Linked DNA regions of Homo sapiens: region 1 is linked to region 2. Evidence: promoter capture Hi-C in 16 types of primary human blood cells and fetal thymus (Javierre and others, 2016). All regions are on one chromosome and are shown on one strand. Each heading gives the region's core, a stretch centred on a gene start or on the middle of the fragment in contact. The rest is flanking DNA. Distances are from core to core; before and after follow the strand shown. Region 1 overlaps LOC107984257 (a long non-coding RNA gene). Region 2 holds the start of SORBS1 (sorbin and SH3 domain containing 1).

What was found. The method cuts DNA at HindIII sites, captures the fragments that hold promoters and counts their contacts. A CHiCAGO score of 5 or more calls a contact.
Region 1: a fragment that was not itself captured here is called in contact with the fragment with the promoter of SORBS1 in region 2 in 1 of 17 cell types (M1 macrophages); the score reaches 5.0 in M1 macrophages.

What each region holds. Positions count from the first base shown.
Region 1 is chr10:95,184,868-95,188,879 of GRCh38, reverse strand. The region is part of intron 3 of LOC107984257 (a long non-coding RNA gene); the gene reads left to right. Among named protein-coding and RNA genes, the nearest start is that of ACSM6, 7.4 kb to the left of the region's middle. The HindIII fragment of the contact is 857 bases long and covers 2,206-3,062 here.
Region 2 is chr10:95,558,593-95,562,899 of GRCh38, reverse strand. SORBS1 (sorbin and SH3 domain containing 1) reads left to right here and starts at 1,529. Exons shown (of 33, transcript NM_001034954.3): 1 at 1,529-1,580. RefSeq lists silencers at 1,180-1,549, 1,590-1,699 and an enhancer at 1,184-1,946. The HindIII fragment of the contact is 3,213 bases long and covers 654-3,866 here.

The DNA.
Region 1 (4,012 bases), core at 1,385-3,884, 380 kb after region 2:
CATGTAAAGTGTGTACTTTTGGGAAAAATATGCTGTCCTTGAGCAGCCACTTTCTGAATGGGAGCAGTAGCTCTGAGCACAATGATTAAAGATGGGGATCAAATGGACAAGAAGGACAAAGGCCATTTTGTCACTACTTGGGAAAGCATTCCCAGTCATGGTCACTCTGGTTCCATCTGGCAACTGTCTGGACACAGATAACCATAGTGGACTCTCCTACCTAGATTAGATCCAACAGGGCCACAAAAGCTGCAGGTCTCATGGTGGTTGTCTGAACTCTGAGAAACTGAAAAGTACAGCAGAGCGAAGATACACAAACAATTAATTTGAAAGCTAAGAAGAGAGAATTTAAAATTTCCTAAGGTATCAGGCTTGAAAATGAGAGGGGAGACGGAGAGAAAATATACTTTTCTCTATGAAAAAACTTAAATAAGAGAATATGGAAAGGGAAAGAAATAAAAAATATATGAAGAAGGGTGAGATATAAACCTTTTTAACCTTTGAGACCACAGGTCATAGCATTCTTTACATGTGGTAGTGTCACATTTTTATGATATACCACATAGTGTAGTGTCAAACAGTGTGCCATACATTCTACCACGTACTACACATTCTACCACATGTGGTACACTCCATTCTTATACATTCTTATACATGTGGTAGTTTCACATTTCTTGCACCCTCACAAATAATTTTACAGAATCTTAGACTGTCAACATTGGAAGTAATCTTTATGTTGAACCCCTTATCCAGTGTTTAACTGTACTGATATAGATCAACCTCAGCAAGGAATTACTAATTTGATTTAAAAAGACATGTAGGTATTATTTCAGTGGGACAAATTCTGCTCAAGTGATGCACAAAATACATGGAAATATGAGCTGCTGCCAATACGGAAATATCCTATAGGATAGGTCAACAGACAAGACCCAGTTCTTTCCCTTACAAAACCTGTGACTTTCTAGAGGAGGCAAATTTATAACAAATTACCTGCAATTTAAGGCAATGAACTCAAATGCCCCATAAGCAGTATAAACAAAGTGCCACTGAAACACTTGCAGAGTGTACAGATTCCTTCTGGCTAATCTTGAAGATCAGAGCTACTTAACAGCGTGAAGGATAAGAGTTGGTCTCAGTCATAATCCTAAGCAAATTAATACAGGAATAGAAAAACCTAATACCGCACTTTCTCACTTATAAGTGGGAGCTAAACATAGAGCATCCATTGACATAAACATGGGAACAGTAGACACAGTGTACTAGAGTGGGGAAGGAGGGAGAGGAGCGTGGGTTGAAAAACGACCTACTGAGTACTATGCTCACTACTTAATTGCAGTATACCCATGTAACAAACCTGCACATGTACTCCCTGTATCTAAAATAAAAGTTAAAAAAAAAGTCCTCAGAAGGCTCAGGGGAATTTTGAGAGGCGAATGCGGCCATGAGCAAGGGTGGAGGTGGGAAATGCAAGACAGCTTAATTTATCCAAATGCTCAAAGATGCTAGGAAAAGAGAGGTTAGATGACCTATGAAAAATGCAGCCAAGATAGAAGCAACAACAACAACCAACAACAAAACCCCCAAAACTCTAAGAATAAACGTTTTCAAGACATTTGCCCTTTTAAAAGACTCAAAGGAAACAGAATAGGTTCTTTTGATTGGAAGTATTCAATTGGCCTAACACTGCCTAAATGATAGGGTTGTTCCTGAACACTGGACCTTTCCAGATCCCTCCATAGGTATCTGGGCCATGGTGATCAGAAGAAATTTATTAATACTTATCTTAATGGGAAGTGTCTGATCAACTCCCTTTTTCTCTTTCTCTCTCCCTGCCTTGGGTAAATCAAGAGATGACAAGTGACACATTTCACAAAGGAAATGACAATAATAATTCACCTCCTGGTCATATGTGATTCCCCCACTACAAACATTCCAGCAGAATATAGCCATTTATTTTGGTATCTGATGGGTTTCTTAGGGCTCTCATCAAACTGGCTGAACAGGGAATCCCTAGGGGCAGCCTGCCAGAGAAGAAGAAAAGGGATGACCCAGATGTTGCTAAAAATCAACAAACTCGAAATAACAGAGTGCAAAAGACATTTCACTTTTTTTCCGTAAGTTATAGGGGGTACAGGTGGTATTTGGTTACACAGACTAGTGCTAAAACCAACGATTAAGTATTAGTGTTCTTGGAGCTGTCAAGCTTTCACAAACATAAATAATGTACTCATAGGGAAACAAGGTTCACACAGGTTGGACCCCAAACTTGCAGAACTTGAAACAGGATCTTGCAGAGGGCTTCCAAGAATGCCCATGATGATTATTAAATAAGATTCCTTATGTTTTAAAAAACAACTTTATTGAAATAGAACTCATATAGCATACAACTTCCCCATTTCAGGCATACAATTCAATGGCTTTTAGTATATTCACAAATCCTTTTTTTTTCATATATATGTACCACACTTTATCCGTTCATCCGTTGATACTTAGGTTGATTTCATATTTTGGCTGTTGTGAATAGTGCTGCAATAAACTGGGAGTGCAGATGTCTCTTCGACATACTGATTTTCTTTCTTGTAGGCATATACCCAGCAGTGGGATTGCTGAATCATATGATAGTTCTATTTTTAGTTCTTTGAGGAACCTCCATGCAGTTTTCCATAGTGGATAAACTATTTTATGTTCCTACGAAGAGTGTTTGAGCGCTCCCATTTCTCTGTGTCCTTTTCAGCATTTGTTATTTTCTGAGTTTTTGACAATTGCCATTTTAATTGAGGTTAAATTATATTTTATTGTGGTTTTGATTTGGATTTATCTGATGATTAGTGATGTTAAACATGTTTGCATATAACTGTTGGCCATTTGTGTATCTTCTCTTGGGAAATGTCTATTGAAATCTTTTGCCCATTTTTAAATTGGATTATTTGGAATTTTTGTTTTTGAGTTCTTACGTATTCTTGTTAGTGATCCCTTGTTGGATGAATAGTTTGGAAAATTTTTCTCCCATTCTGTGGGTTGTCTCTTCACTTTATTTTTATTTTTATTGATGTGAAGAAGCTTTTTAGCTTGATGTAATTCTATTTATCAATTTTTGCATTCGTTACCCGTGCTTTTGAGGTCTTACTCAGGAAATCTTTGCCTAGACCAGTGTTCTAAAGTATTTCCCCTATGTTTTCTTCTAGTAGTTTCATAGTTTCCTACATGTAAGTTTTTAATTCATTTTGATTTGATTTTTATATATGATGAGGCATAGAAGTCTAGTTTTATTCTTCACGTGTCTCATTTTCCCAGTACCATTTATTGAAGAGACCATCTGTTTCCCAAGGTATGTTCCTGGTGCCTTGGTCAAAAATGAGTTGGTTGTAAATGCAAGGATTTATTTCTGGGTTCTCCATTCTGTTTCACTGGGCCGTGAAATCCTTACTTTTCGATATTATAAGTCACCATTTTCAGCTTTCCATCCTGTCAACCTTGCTGTATTTGGGCCAAGCAGGGCATGCAGGACCCAGAACTTGGTGTGGACAGGTGGGGCCAGAGCCCCTGTAGGCTGCTCAAGAAATCTGCACTGAGGTCTGCAGGGAGGACCAAATCCCCATAGATGATTCCACAAAAACACTGTTAGGTAAACCACAGTGTGAAACAGCTTGAGAAATAGAATCTGTGTCATATCCAACATTTACTCACACTCATAACTGCATGAGCGGGATACTTGAGCAGGAGGACCCAGAAGAACACCCTCTTCACCTGCATGTCCAGGTCCCCTTTGTGTCACCTAGGGCAAGAGGCTGGAAGGAGAGGCATCTGGGATAGGGGCAGGCTATGGTCGGGGCAGTGGGGTGGTAGGACCTGGACAGTGGGGGTGGTGGGGTTAGTGAAAGGTCTGGGGCAGGGCAGAGATCAGGAGGAACAGCATTCCAGCAGGGCTGGGAGACATGTCAGTAGGTTGGCAGACACAGGAGCAGGTGGCCTGGGACTCAGAGGAGCAGCTGGAGTTGGAGGAGAAGGGCTC
Region 2 (4,307 bases), core at 280-2,779:
GAAAAGCTGCAGGATGAGGTGCAGATAGGGGAAGGCCGTGGGCTGGGGGCTCCCTAGGTTGAGTAGTTCCCCAGTGTTTTCTCATTTATAGAGTAAGCTTCCAGATGGCTAGGACTCTTCTTTTTTTTTTTAATACACAGCAGAGGACACCAGGTGGTCACCAAAGACTTGTCACCGTTCCCTGACATCTAAGAATCTTTGCTGATGAGTTTCCGATCAGTCTGTGCAGTTATCAAGGCCAGTCTTTACCCTGCCACCCACAGCCTGTTCACTGAGAATGTGCTCTGGCTGAAGATGCTTGCAAGGGCAGCTGACAAAAATCAGTTGTGCTCAGCCCAAAGGGCGAGTGTCTTATCTTCAGGGATGTGGGAAGCTGGGCATGGAGGGAGCAAGTTCCAGACCAGTACTTGCTGGCTCTGCGACCTTGGGCCAGCAGATTCCCCACTCTGATCCCTGTCTCTGTTTCCTTTTCTGTAACTCTGAGGGGGACTAGAGGAGGTCAGGAGAATGGCATAGCACAGTGGTTAGCTCTGAACCCCATCTAACACGGTGCCTTCCCCCCACTTGCAATGACCTTGTTGCATTGTATGCACTCTACTTTTCACATTGTAGAGGATCTTATTTATTTACTTGTCTCCACTAAAATGGAAGCTTCCTAAGGGAAAAGGCCTTGCCTGTCTTGTTCTCTGCAGTTAACACTGGGGTCCAGCACTGCCACAGAGCCTCTAAATATATGTGTGTTGCATGAGTGAAATCTCAGAGCCTGGGTTCAAATCCTGGTTGCACCACTTGCTGTGTGACCTCGGACAAGCCACTTAAACTACACCTCAGTTTTCCTGCATAAAAATAGTAATTATTTTCAGTTTTCTCACTAGAAAAATATGGATTAGTAATCGTTCCTCTCTTATCAGGCTAAGAGGATCAAATGAGGAAATATCCGGGAAGCATTAAGCACACTGGCTGGTACAGAGCACACGAATGACAACAGCAAACGTTTATGTAGCACGACGGCCAGGAACTGATCAAAATGCATCACCTATGTTAACTATGTTAATCTTCACTAGATTTTACGAAGTCGGACTATTATGCCATTTTACAGATGGGTAAACTGAGGCCCAGGAGTTAAATAACTTATCACTGTTATTTTACGTCTAAGGTTCCTTCCAAGCTCCCCGTGGGCGACCCTTCCGAAGGACCAGAAGGCGCGCCAGGCCAGCGTCCGGCCCGGCCAGGACGGAAAGGGTTACTAGGCCCGCGCGCCCGTTACCGGCGGAGGCCGGCGGGCTCACAATGCCAGGAGCCGGGCGCCGGACACTTCTTCGCCTCCCATCCGCGCACACGCCCCTTCCTGTCACGGCTGGGCCCGGCCCCGCCCCCGGCACCGCCCGCTGGCCGGGCGCTGCCAGAGTGGACGGTTCCAGAGGCATGCTAATGAGGGGGCGGGCACCGCAGCCCATTGGTTGTCCGCGGAGTGTCGGTGAAGTCAGCGCTGAGTCCCAGAAAAACAGAGCGGGGCCAGCTGCAGCGTGTAGTGCGAGTGGGGCGGACGCGCGCAGCCCGCCCGCCCGGCGACCAGCAAGGTAAGCCCGCGCTCGCCCGCCCGGCCGCGCTTGCCCGCTCGGCGGCGGCAGCGCCGGGGGTGTGCGCGGCTCGGCCCCCGCGGGCGGCGCCTTTGTTCCGCGCTCGGAGGAGGCGCATTTAAAGGGCCAGCTGTTGGAGGGACTTGGGGGACCCCCTCCCCCAGAGCATCCCCCCATGGGCACAGGGAAAGCGGTGGTCCCTCGCGGCCGAACCGTCCATCCTGCCTGCTCGGCGAATCCCCAGTCTTTCAAGGAAAGTTCCCCAGGGTGCGGAGGATCTGGGGGCTTCCAGGGTTGGGGGTTTTTAAATTTCCTTTTTTGGTGGGTGTGGGGTAGTACGATCATGGCCTCTGCTAGGAGAGAATGTCCGCCCGTCTCAGGGTGGCTGCAATTTGGGTGGGTGGAGGAGACATCAAAGCCCGAATGGGTTTGTGCTGTAAAGTGAAACTACCGAGGAGGGGCACCTCTGCAGCAGCCAGAGGAAGGCGGAGGGAGCGAGCGGCGGGATGGAGGCATCTCAGGTGTGTTCATTCATCAGCATCCCCTGGAGAGGGCGGCGGGAGGGGCGCAAGGACGACGCGGTTGGCCGGACCCGCCTGAATGAACGGGGACTAGTATGCGCCGGGGACACGGCGCCTGCCCGTGCCGCCCGTGCCCCTTCTTCTCCCCGAGTGGCTGACAGCATCTTGCTAGGCAGCTCATCACCGACATGGACAGCAAGCAACTCCTTTCTCCGAATTCCCCGGGCATCCCCTGCTACCACCTCGCTGCTTTCCGATGTGGCTTCCTTGATACGTGGTAGCGCCATTCAAGATAGAGGGGAAAGAGGCTTGAAGTCATTATGTTTCCTTCATGGGGGAATGTGCTGTCGAATTCTGCATCCCCATGCATCCGCTGTCGTAAGATGGCTTTGAAATTCACCAGTGCATGCTTTCTCCAGGCAGACAAGAATTTATTACGCTATTACATTGCTACGTAAAAGCAGAAGGGATCCCACTGAGCATGGCTCGTTTTGTTCAGTCCTCGGTTTTTCCCAGCATGTTCTGGGCGAGCCTTTGGATTTTTGTTTTAAACACTGAGCGTTGGGATGCCCCTGTTGTCACAGGGCCGACCTGCTGAAATTGCTGGAATTGGTTTCATCGTCAATAGGAGGGAGGTTCATCTAGAGACATCATGGAACCTATCTGGCGTGTCAGGCCTCTGACTCCATCTCTCCCCTCAACACCCCCCCCCCCGCCCAGCCCCCCGCGCCCTTTTTTCCTCTTAAGTGGAGGCGGGGGATGGATTGGCTGTCTTCACTCTCCTTGTGTTTTGAGCTCCTCTGCTTAGATTCAATTCTGTGGTTTTGGTTGGAAAGGTATCTTGGTGGTGATCGAAGAGAGGAGGGTTGGATTAAAAGTGGGGTGGACACAGAGGGGTCAGCAGCATCAATGACAGAAGACAGATGATGGACATATCTACAGCCTTCAGACACCGATGAGGCAGATGGCTGTCTACAGAGTGAGGGGCGTGTGTTTGGGCTGTGAGGGGGAGGGGTGGAGGAGGAGGATGCCTCCAGCAGTTTTCTGCCCCGCCCTCTGGATGCTGCCTTAAATAGCCCCTTGCCAACCAAGCTCTGATGTCTCTTTCTTGGCCTGAGGGGAAAGAAGGGAAGGGTTGGTCTGTTGGCACCTTTGCCCAAGGCACTGTTGGAGCAGATGGTTAGGAAAGGGTTAGTTCTCCAGGGGTTGCAGAGAGCACATTTCTCAGCTGGAGGGCCCTGAGACCACTCCTTTGGCGACTTCCCTGCAGGGAATTAGCAACTGAAATGAACTGCTGTCTACCCTGTGGGGTAAAGAGTTGGGAGGGTATTGTCATCTTGTGGACGATACCCGCCTTGTTGGCCTTTTCCTTCTCCTACCTGCTTTCATTTGTTGTAGTTGGAGAGTTTCTGTATACTTTTCGGAAGAGATTGGGCATATTGGGGAGTGGGTAGGAGTTATGGGAAAGGATGAGCAAATTCTTCCTGGCAGAACAAAGCACTGTTCAGCTGTTCCTCTCTTTCCCCTTCTCTAAAATAAGAGTTCAATACAGATAGCAGAGTCTAGGGTTTTCTTTGTAAACAATGAAAGGGCAGGGCCAGGAAAGAAAGTTTTTATTGTGCAGCATTGATAATGATCAGGTCATCCTAACTTATCTCCAGACCCTTCCCTGGATGTGGAGATAGATTTGCTGTAGAGGGCACTCTATGGTAATTTAGGATTTGACCTGTCTCTAGGAGAAAGGCATGGATGGTCTCAAAAAGCTTTGGTGGAGAAGCTCTGGACCAGAGGCAGGACAGCTAGCTTTGGTCCTGGCCACCAATCTTTGGGCTTTGGGCTAGTGGCTTCTGCTCTCTGGGCCTGTGTCCTTGCTGGTGAAGTGGAGGATGATAGGGCAGAAGGTCTTCCAGGGTTCCTGACAACTCCACTGTTCTTAGAGTCACAGTTTGTGATGGCATTTTCAGGTTCTTTCCTGTTTGCTAAATTGATAATAAATTCAAAGTATTGCACAATGGCATAGAAGAAGCATTCTAGGATGCAGGCTTCTGTTGGATTCACATCTACCTTTTCCTTGATTAGTGTGATTTGTGAGGTTTTACTGTAAGTATGTAAACAATTCAGAGCTAGAACGGTCCAGAGTGAGAGGCACAGACCCCAGAGTGAGTGGTTGTGGGAGATGAGGGTGGGATGATAGATTGCTGAGGAA